Linked DNA regions of Homo sapiens: region 1 is linked to region 2. The links are contacts of gene promoters, found by promoter capture Hi-C in blood cells and fetal thymus (Javierre and others, 2016). All regions are on one chromosome and are shown on one strand. The core of a region is centred on a gene start or on the middle of the fragment in contact, and the rest is flanking DNA. Distances in the headings are between cores, read along the strand shown.

What was found. Contacts are between HindIII fragments. The CHiCAGO score rates a contact against its expected background, and 5 or more counts as called.
Region 1: a fragment that was not itself captured here is called in contact with the fragment with the promoter of ACSL4 in region 2 in 1 of 17 cell types (non-activated CD4 T cells); the score reaches 9.0 in non-activated CD4 T cells.

The regions. Positions count from the first base shown.
Region 1 is chrX:112,672,127-112,677,721 of GRCh38, forward strand. All of the region lies in intron 1 of LHFPL1 (LHFPL tetraspan subfamily member 1), which reads right to left. Among named protein-coding and RNA genes, the nearest start is that of LHFPL1, 5.0 kb to the right of the region's middle. The HindIII fragment of the contact is 3,674 bases long and covers 96-3,769 here.
Region 2 is chrX:109,730,797-109,736,426 of GRCh38, forward strand. It overlaps ACSL4 (acyl-CoA synthetase long chain family member 4), which reads right to left and starts at 2,461. Exons shown (of 16, transcript NM_001318510.2): 1 at 2,343-2,461. LOC105373311 (a long non-coding RNA gene) reads left to right here and starts at 1,715. Exons shown (of 1, transcript NR_158569.1): 1 at 1,715-4,162. RefSeq lists enhancers at 1,824-1,873, 1,934-2,073 and silencers at 2,196-2,316, 2,414-2,723. The HindIII fragment of the contact is 5,191 bases long and covers 819-5,630 here.

The sequences.
Region 1 (5,595 bases), core at 683-3,182, 2.9 Mb after region 2:
ATCAAAATGGGAGGCAACTTTCCAACCAGGAGAGGTTATCTCTGGAATGGCTATTAAGAAAAGCTTCCTTGTCCTTTGCTGGATATAATCCAAAAAGCTTCTCAAAGTTCTGAAATAGATCAGGATCAGGCACTCCCTACCTTGCAGCAGGAACATATAGCTGTAAGGACCTTTCAAGGTCCCTTTTGGAACAAGTAATCTTGTAATCAAGACGCTGAGAGTCTTTCCAGATCTAGTTCTTCAGCTCAGCTCACAAATGGTTTTCACAGACCCCTCTGTCAAAAATCAACCACTTTCCTCCCAACTCCATTAATCTGCCATTGCTTTCTGGCCTGTTTCTCTATTGGGCCGGCTAGAGACCACACTGCAGCTTGATGACAGCACTGTGAATGTCTCCAGCAGGCAGATGGTGGAATATGTTTCAAAAACTTCTCCATGATTCACCACCATTACTTAAAGTTATATGTGGTGGTGTAGAGGACTGGGAAGGAGGTTGGGGGACCCAAAGCAGGGGAAGCGCAGGAACTGGCTGTATGGGGTCATCGCCACATTGCCAATTTTAGACACTGACAGGAACAAGCAGCAGAGGCACTAAGTGTCTCAGGGTCTCAGTCATGAGCCCTTTCACAACCATTGTCAAACAGTGCCTGACACAGAGCAGGCAGTCCATTTCAAGTTTGTTTAGTGAAACCCATTTCATAGAATCATTCAATTTCCAGATGGGTAGGGAACTTAATGAATCATTTAATCCAACCTTCTTGTTTTACATATGGGAGAATTTTGCCCAGTAAAGGAGGAAGTGATTTTCTTCAAGTCACAGAGTAAGTTAGCAAGCAGCAACATCAGAACCTGAAACCTGATCTGCAGATGCCTAGGCCAGTACTTTTCTACCACACAATGTTAAACTACCCCCTCTCCATGACTTTACAGGTGGGAATATGGAGAGGAAGTGATTTACTCAAGGGTGAAGGGCTAGTGAGGTACACTGGCCAGATCAGAGCCCAGTTATTTGATTCTTAATATAATGCTCTTTTTTTACTCAACCACAATTCCCCTATTGATACATATGTATTTTGTGCTACGTGTTTTGTGCAGGAAGGGAGCAGAGATCGTAAATTGCAGGTGCTTACTCTGGAATGTTAGGGCTTGGGAAGAAAGTGCCCTGAGCTGGGCCCCTGGGAATTAGGCTTTGTGGCTGAGAATGGGAGAAATGAGAGAAAGATGTGATGAGGGATTGAAAGGCAACAGGGGGAGAAGTGGAACTAGTTTTGAGTAATTGCTGTTAGACAGCAGGTATGGTTGGCCGCAATGAGGTAATGCCTCTGCTTGTTGTATTAGAGTTTGTAAGATTACAAAAAGTGCAAGCAGCCCTCCATTACAGACTCATTTCCTGATGAAGCAGCCCAGGCCAGAGGAGGAGAGGAAACAAGCTGACAAACAGTTATTAGCTGTGTCATCACAATCCCTTCCAAATCCATTATTATATGTGCTCTGCCCAACGGTCTTCTTAGGTTAGTAAGAAAGATATTATCCTAAATTTACAAATGAGCAAATTGGGCTTCAGAAAGACAAGCGACCTACCCAAGGGTACACAGTGATTCAACGGCAAAGCCATAATTTCTCACTTTTCTTTTACCTGAAGCCTTCCCCTACAGTATTACCCCAAAAGTATTACAATTAAAAGCCTCCATGATTTCCCATAGAGATTTTCAAAAAATATTGAAGACAGAAGGAAACCCAATTTCTCCAGACATAGTGCAAACACCATCAGGGCAAGTATATAATTTCTTTCAATCTCAGCACTTGTAGTCAAAACTAACTCCGAATGTCCCTCATGGACATCATCACCTGGAGATGAAAAGTCCCAGTATGAAGCAAAAAGAACAAATCTGGAAGCATCATACTACCTGATTTCAAACTATACTATAAGGCCATAGTCACCAAAACAGCGTGGCACTGGTATAAAAATAGGCGCATAGACCAATGGAACAGAATAGAGAACCCAGAAAAACCCAAATACAGCCAACTGATCTTCAACAAAGCAAACAAAAACATAAAGTGGGGAAAGGACATCCTTTTCAACAACTAGTGCTGGGATAATTGGCTAGCCACATGTAGGAGAATGAAACTGGATCCTTATCTCTCACCTTATACAAAAATCAACTGAGGATGGAATAAGGACTTAAACCCAAGACATGAAACCATAAAGATTCTAGAAGATAACATTGAAAAAACCCTTCTAGACATTGGCTTAGGCAAGGATTTCATGACCAAGAACCCAAAAGCAAATGCAATAAAAACAAAGATAAATAGCGGGGACCTAATTGAACTAAAGAGCTTTTGCACAGCAAAAGGAACAGTCAGCAGAGTAAGCAGACAACCCACAGAGAGAGAAAATCTTCACAATCTATACATCTGACAAAGTACTAATATCCAGAATCTACAACGAACTCAAACAAATCAGTAAGAAAAAAAAAATCCCATCAGAAAGTAGGCTAAAGACATGAATAGACAATTATTAAAAAAGATATACAAATGGCCAACAGATATATGAAAAAATGCTCAACATCACTAATGATCAGGGAAATGCAAATCAAAACCACAATGCAATGCCACCTTTCTCCTGCAAGAATGGCCATAATCAAAAAATCAAAAAACAGTAAATGTTGGCATGGATGCAGTGAACAGGGAACACTTCTACACTGGTGGTGGGAATGTACACTAGCACAGCCACTATAGAAAACAGTGTGGAGATTCCCTAAAGAACTAAAAGTAGAACTACCATTTGATCCAGCAATCCCACTACTGGGTATCTGCCTAGAGAAAAAGAAGTCATTATTGCAGCGACCTGGATGAGATTGGAGACTATTATTCTAAGTGATGTAACTCAGGAATGGAAAACTGAACATCATATTTCTCACGGATATGTGGGAGCTAAGCTATGAGGATGCAAAGGCATAAGAATGACACAATAGACTTTGGGGACTTTGGGGACTTGGGGGGAAGGCGAGGGATAAAAGATTACAAATACGGTGCAGTGTATACTACTCGGGTGATGGGTGCGCCAAAATCTCACAAATCACCACTAAAGAACTTACTCATGTAACCAAATATCACCTGTACCCCCAATAACTTATGGAAAAATAAAATTTTTTAAAAAGTCCCAATATAACAACCAGTAGGAGGGGCAGAGAACTTAAGGCAGAGGAACGGACTATCTCTGTGTAGTGCCGTGACTACAGTAGAAATGAGGGGAGGGGTTGTAATATATGGTTGTCCTCACCTGTGACAAATGAAGCTGTTAAATTAAACTACAATACTATCAACTACTGTCACCATGATTTCAGTTTAAAAGCGACGTTTTGAAGCCAAGACATAGGAAGACAAATTCTCAAAATTCAATTTAAATTAAATGTGTTTAGCTTTAGAAAAACTCATTGTCCTTCAGAATTTAGATGAAGTACTTTCAACTTTAGGAAAAACGCATAGTCCTTATTTCATTTATGACTAGGGTGACCAACTATGTCAGTTTTCCTGGGACTCAGGGGTTTCCTGGGATGTGGAATTTTTAGTGATAAAACCAGGAAAGTCCCAAAAAACCTTGGATGAAATGGTCACCCTATTTAGGACTAGAGATGTTGTGGGCTAGCACAATCCGTGGACAGCAGGTTAAGAATCACTGCCACAGATAATTCTCTAATATTCTCTTTTCAGGACTCAAACAATATAAAGTTAAAAGTGACTATGGAATTAAACATTGAAGATATGAAGCTTATACACTTTAAATGCAAACCTTTCTAAATCATCGACTTGACTTGAACGCAATCAAGAAAGAGATCTCAGAGATCCAATTACTTAATAGCTTCTGAACACAATATGAGTCTCAGCCCAACTTCCCTTGTGGCTGGATAGAGAGGCTGCAGGGCACATGGAGTCTGTTCACACACTGCTTTATGTTCACATGTGGTGGACAGTGAAGTGTATTCTAGAAAATGCTTTTAGTTATGCCACCTGCAATGGAGTAATCTCCTTCATGACAACCCTCCAAAGCAATCCAAGTTCATTCCCAGAAACCGGTTAAGTCGCTTTATATTTACATAACTAGAAATCACAAACAATGCTATATTTTATTCTATCTTAATTCCTGTTGTATACTTCATGTATGTAACAGCTTTGTTTCCCTGTCCTGGAATATCCAGCCAAACAGCCACACTGGATTTCAGGAACCAAGAACTCACCCTGATGCTCTTGTAGAGTGGTCAAGTTACCAGGCATTGATAGGATTGCAGTTGAACCTCTCTCTTTAGGTGTCACATTATCCCTCATTCCTCAGGTTTTTAAATCTGCTAGATGGGCCGCAAGCCTGTTTCCGAGATTGGTTGTATGAGATGCAGTGGATGTTGCCAGAAAGTTGTAATAAATAGGATAAAAATATGAGTTCTGTTCTGAATTTGCTATCCTTACTAAAGCCTAATGTTTGCTCATCTTTAGAGATAATGCTAGCCATTCTAGCACAGCCTCGTGGGTAGAAGTCACCTCAACCTATATGATGCAGGAAACCCACCTAAACCATACATGGCAAATGGTTATCTCCATTACTTTTAAAGAACTCTAGGAAAGGGAAATCTATAATATCTCTTAGTAGCTTAACAACTCTCACCGTCAATAAATAATTTGTTATATGCCTTTATAAACTTTTCTTGTTGCAACCTAAGGCCAGATCCTTTTGTTGGGTCCTCAGAGGTAATGGAGAACAGCTAGCCACCATCTTCCAAATGAGAGCCCTTCATCAACTCAGATTGCTAGCAGGAGACCTTTAGCCTTTTTCCCCATAATGAGCATTCTCCCTCTCCCTGTGGTGTCCAATTGCCAAGCCTTTAATCATTTGTTCTCACTTTTTTCACTTTCTTGTATACCTACTAATGTATGGGCACTTACAATGAAGTATCAATGAAAGTGAAACGTTGCTTTTATATTTCTCTTGGTGGAGAAAAACAAAGCTATTCCTTCCTGTATCACCTCCTCCCCAGTACCCACAGAAAAAGACACAAATCCTTTTGTTTCCACTTGAGCTTGTTGTGCAACTTCTGAGTTAAGGAAAGCACTGCCTTTCCCAGGGTAAGAGGGTACAGGCAAAACAGTAAGCAAATTAAAGACTAGAACATGAAGTGGTAAGAAAGGGAGTCAGTGACTTAACAGCTGCTGAGGGAAACATGCCTGCAAGACTGCTGGTTTAGGACTGGTCTGTGAAGAGCAGCTTTCTTGGCACTGGTGTTGGCAAAGGAACGTGAACAGGCCTTTCTCCTCACGCCCCCAGACAGTGTGCATTGTCTTCCTGCCAATCCTGTTACAAATACATCTTACTCAGAGTTGAGACTTCCCTAGGAAATGAATGAGATATGCAGGCATATGTTTCCAGTGGGTAAATAGAGTCCTGCTCCAGAGAAACGTGTTGGACCGATGTGACTCCTTATATCAAGTTGGGTATATAAGCAGCCTGACCATGCTAGATCTTTCTGTTTCAGACAAAGCTTCAAAAAAAAAAAAAAATACTGCTACTCCCCAAACATTTCTCTCCTCATGTTCTGCTACCTG
Region 2 (5,630 bases), core at 1,211-3,710:
GCTGGGACTACAGTCACCCACCACCACGCCTGGCTAATTTTTTGTATTTTTAGTAGAGACGGGGTTCCACCGTATTAGCCAGGATGGTCTCGATCTCCTGACCTCATGATCCGCCGGCCTCGGCCTCCCAAAGTGCTAGGATTACAGGCGTGAGCCACCACACCCAGCCATTCCCTTATAAATTTCTAAAAGCCATGGACATTTAAAAAATAGTGCGGTATAACACACATTTCACTTGCAAGCAGAAATTAACATAATACCCAACATTTGTAAAATGCTTCTGAGTTTATAGATTTTCACATATAATTATTTATTTAATCAGGATTAAGAACTAAGTATACCTAAATTGAAACCACTATACACAAACCTTTGAGAAAAACATTCTAGTCAACTGGTATAACAGGATTTATAACAGCCTTAACGCAAATTGCATTATATGTGTGTGTGTATACCTATATATACACGTGTGTATATATATATTTGTCATATATATTCATTATAAGAATATATCATTCAAATTGGGGGACTTGTGGATCATTTCAACAACCATAAAGACACTTATTTTACAGATGCAAAAACTAAGAGAGGTGAAGTGACTTGTTCAAGGTTAAATATATATCTAGAGTTGGGTCTAGAACCTGAGCCTCTCCAGAGTTCCAATTCATTTCTCTTGTCTGAATTGAACAAGACTCTTCTTTCTTCACCCATCTCACCCCTACCAAAAATACTGAAAGAAATATCTTAATCTAAATCACTTGTGTTTTTAAATAGGGGGTTTTCCAAAAAAAAAAAAAAACCCACAAAATTGAATTTACTCAAGCTTTCAATTGCTGTATTACACCTTCCATGGATTTTTAGTTGTCAAATTATTTCTTATAGCAGGACAATAAGGTACTTTATTCTAAGGTACAAGTATACTAACAGTTTAATGTTTCATCCCCCACCTAAATGGCAGAGAGTGTTAATTCTAACAGGAGTCTTACATGTCTTACACTTTAGCAGTTTCAATCAAAAGATGAGCTATTTTACAATTTAAGGAAGAGGCCTTACACTGTTAAAATCTTGACCGATATGCTCAATGGCAGTACCATCATTGAATCTCCACCTGCTGCCTTACGTATCAAGAACATTTAAAAGTCTTTCTTGTTAGAGACAAAATAAAAGAAAAACTAAGGTGACAAGCGACTATGAGAAATAAGGCTTTAATCAGGTTAAATTTGCATTATGCAGCCTGCATGAATTTAGAGGTCCTAGAATCAAAACACTAGAAGGAACCTTTGATATGCTCTAGTTCAACAGACTGATTTTTGCAGAAGAGGAAACTGAAGCGCTGATGAGACCATTAACTGATAAAGCAAACCGCTTACTTTTTCAAAGGGATTCATTTCAATGCCATTTTACCCTTATTTTGCATCTCACTGTTGTTTCTCAGAGCGACGATTGACCTTTTTTTAGGTGAAAAGAGCGAATAGAGCGTATTAATTTCAAGAGGGTGAAAAATGCCTTTGAAGGAGGAGATGCTGGAGTGAAGAGGAGAAATGACGTCTTATTTAAAATATGTAACCCCTTGATGGGGTTAGACAATGAATCATATTCTCCTAGATTTTTCTATGTCTATAGACATCAGCCACAGTTCTTTCAGGCACTCAAACGAGAGGAAGAGGAAGTGAATAAAGCTCATACTAAATATATAGCACCCACTGAAGGCAGGGATGTAGACAGAAAGAACGGGGGTGGGGGAAGGAAGGAAAGCACGCTTCGCCAGGATCCAGCTGTTTTCTAACAAACCTAAGCCTACGGAAGCTAGGAAGATATCGGAAGCAAGGAAGATATCGGAAGCGACGGCATCCCTCAAATTCGAGAGGGCGGATGCCTCTAGGGCTAGAGAGGCTCCCTAGCCCTCAGTTACAGAGCGACTGGGAGGGGACAAAATGGAGTTGAGGTTTAGGGGCACCCTAAAGGTCGTTTGGAGGTCTAGCAAGCACTTCATGGTCTCCTCCGGAAAGGGCCGTGGCAAAGCCTAGTACCCCGATCAGGAAGATGACTTCTGGCCCTCGGGATGCGGTGAGCGGCAGGAAGAGGCAGGCTGGGGTTCCGAGGACCCCAGAGTCCATCACAGGAGCAGATACAGTGACCTCGGGAATCTTCCCGGCCCCAGCGGAGGCGAGCGGATAGATAGCCCTGGCTCAAGGAAAAAAGCGAGCCGACTCCAGGAGCTGGAATGCCCACCCAACCTCCTCCCGGCTCAGGTGAGGTACGCCAGTCCCCCTCTGGAAATGGGGCCCTGGTACCGACAGGGCAGGGGTGCCGGGGCCGCAACCTCCCCATCCAGGGATACTCACCGGAGGGGCGGCCCACCGCGTCTTCGCAGCCGGCCGGCGCCTGGCACTCGGAAAGCTCGCAAAAAGGAACCGCGTGCCCGCTAGCGCTGGGACGAGGAGGAGCGCGCGGCGGAGGCCAGAGAAAAAGCCGCAGCGGCGCGCGCGCACCCGGACAGCCGGCGGAGGCGGGACTCAGCGCGAGCCCGGAAAAGACGCGCCCGGAGGGGCGGGCGGAGCGGGGGCGCGCGGTGGTGTGGCAGAGCCAGCCGAATCGCTGGCTGCAGACGGCTCGGCCCACCCACGCGCCCGCCCCCGCTCGCCCGGGACGTCAGTCGAAAAGGCGGAGCCGAACGGGCTTCCCGGGGCGCGGGAGGGGCGCTGCGAGGAAGGCGAGGCGGCTAACGGCTCGCCTCAAGTTGTTGCTCCCGCTGGCGATCCGCTTCTGTCAGTCTCGCTGCTGGTGTCGTTGAGTGTGTTTCGGGATGTCCTTGCGCCTAACAGCAGTGAGGCGCAGAATTGGCCCACGCCCTCACCTGCGGCTTGCTTCGCAGGACTCCACCCCAGGATAAAAGTTCCCCTCGGGTCATCTTCCAGCTGCCCTCAAAAGACACTCATTTTTGGGTTTCACTGCTCCTCTTTAAGAGAGCTATCTTGAACACTTTGACTAAAAGCATCTTGCTCCTGTAAGCCTGAACTAATGCCTCTCATCCGTTTATCTTGCCTCTTACTGCGTTAAGATCCCCGCTCACTCCCACTGATGAAATATCACAAGGACGCAGGATTTTCACGTTGTCTTTCATTTCCACGATGGTATCATGGCAAAAAAACCCCCAACTGATAAGGAAAAGTCACCGCAGCTTTGTGACATCTTACTAGCCCTGATCATTGCTTATAAGCCGGTCATACGAATGCTGTTCCAACAGATGCAAGAAATTGCTATTAAAATTAAAATGCCAGCGAACTATCTGAGGGCTTCAAAAGGGACAGACCATAATTGCAAATGAGGCCTGATAAACTGCCAAGAATATATCACCCAAAAAAATAAATCTCAAGAATTCTTCCAGTTCCCTGATGCGTAATGGTGAACTAGCTTCCTGTTCCTGATGGTAATTGACATTTCACTTCACTTGCTGATTTCCATTTTCCCATAGAATTACCATTTGTGCTTGTGTGTGTGTATATATATATGTATATATAAAATGCCTTACCACCTGAGATTACAAGCTAGAGTAGTTCTTCAGTGTGCATCACAATTATCTGGGGTGCTTGTTGAAATGTAGGTACCTGGAGCTACAACCCCCAGGTATTTTGATTCTGATCTGGGTAGGGATAAGAAATTTGAATTTTTAATAAGCAGCCCAGGTGACACTAAAAGTGGTTAGCTGAGAGCACAGAGCTATAGTTTTTGTGTTACTACTCTAAAGCCATATTACCAATTCAATTTCCAAGAAACCCACCCACTTACATATAATATACCTATAAATATTGCTAAGACAGTCATGTAGCTTCCTTTTTCAAGATTGACCTACAAAGTTCAGTACTTCAAACAACGAGTTTAATTGTCATGTTTATTTTATGAAATCTTGTTTTAATACCAGAAATAAGCAATCATATGTCAGGTACGTAATTCACTGGGTAACTATGATGTACAGAGCACTATCACCTACAGTTGGGTTAACACAAATGAAATTGAAGAAATGAATATCGCTGTTCTCAATAAAGTTAGTGTCTAGTTGTGGAATTAAAATATAGATATAATACAAACCCAGTGTAGCACATAAATCAGTGTGCTGGATGAAGATGAAAAAGAACTTGTAATTAAAGAGTACTTTTGCCAGTTTCCTTTATTGTCGGTCTCTTAGCCCAGACATTTTCAATTAGGTAATTTCCTCTGAACAGAGTCTTCAGCTTACTGAAGTTCCTCCAGCTCTACAAGATATAAAGGAAAGAAATCACTATAGCCTGAAACTATCCGTTTTTTGGTATACAAATGTGTGTATGATATACATATAGATATGTTTATCAGACCAAGAAACTACTTGGATTTTCAAGATCTCTTATTACTTAAGCTATTCATTAGTGTGTACAGTTCTGGCTGTCTTCATCACCTACCACATCTCACCTTCTTCCACATTTAACTGCACCCAAGTTGAAGAGGAAAGAAGAACTATACCTCCAAAAAGGAAACCAAGTATAACCACGCTATTTCCAGCTTTCCTTTTTCGGAGTCAAAACAAACCTTGCTTAATTTCTTGTCATCAGAAACCTTCCAGAAATTACTGCCCAGGAGCAAAATATTTCCCAAGCAGCTGTCTGACATTTTAAAGAGAACATTTGCAACGTTGTTTATTAGTTAGGAAGATAGGGTATTATTATCCCTATTTCACAGATGAAGAAATAGATGCAGGTTAAGTGTCTTGTCCAGTCACACAACTAAGTAGTAACAGAGCCTGAATTTCCTACTACACTGCTTATGACTCCTAGACCAGGGTGCTTGCCGCTACATTAAGCTGCCTCTGTAATGAGTCCTACCCAGAACTACCAACCCAATTAGAAATGGAGTAGATAAACGTATGGAAATGGAAGAGTTAGGAAAATGTACAATGCAATTGACAGATTCAAAATGCAATGTAATAAGTACTAAAAGCATGAGAATTAGTCTGTTAGAAGCTAAACAGAATTTAAAGGACAGCTCTGTTAACAGGCACTGATATTTAGGCCTTGCCTATTTTATTATTCTGTAACAAGAAGCTGAAACAGATAGCCAGGCTGCTCTTGGCATTAGTTATTTATGGAAGGGCAGAAAACAACTGTTCTTCATTGACTGTGTAACAAGCCTTTGCGTGTTAAACTTCACGGGTTTGTAGAATAATAATAATTTTCTCCTGTGGTCTAAATACAAGCAGCAGGGCTTCATAATAATATTTGCATTGACAAGTTGTGTTAGATTTTGTCATTAACAAACCTTATTTTTTGCAGACCCAACAACCAGGCCAAATATTGTCTTTAGTGGCTTGTGTTAAACAACCGGTGAAATCAGAAACCTACGTAGATGATCATCTCACTGTGAACATAAATAATAACCTAAGCCACTCCTTTCAAAAATGATCAAAGGCATAGTAGCTACATCTAAATGTTATTTTTGAGAAATGATTTGTTTTTTCAAAATAACTATTTCTTTTCATTCTGGCACATTTTTCAGGTTTTTAAATTAATGGAAACACCAAAACAAATAGACATCTAGTGCACCCAGATAGGAAGACACAGTATTGCATGGAGTCAAGTTTTTCCAAATTAATCCGTCAAGAC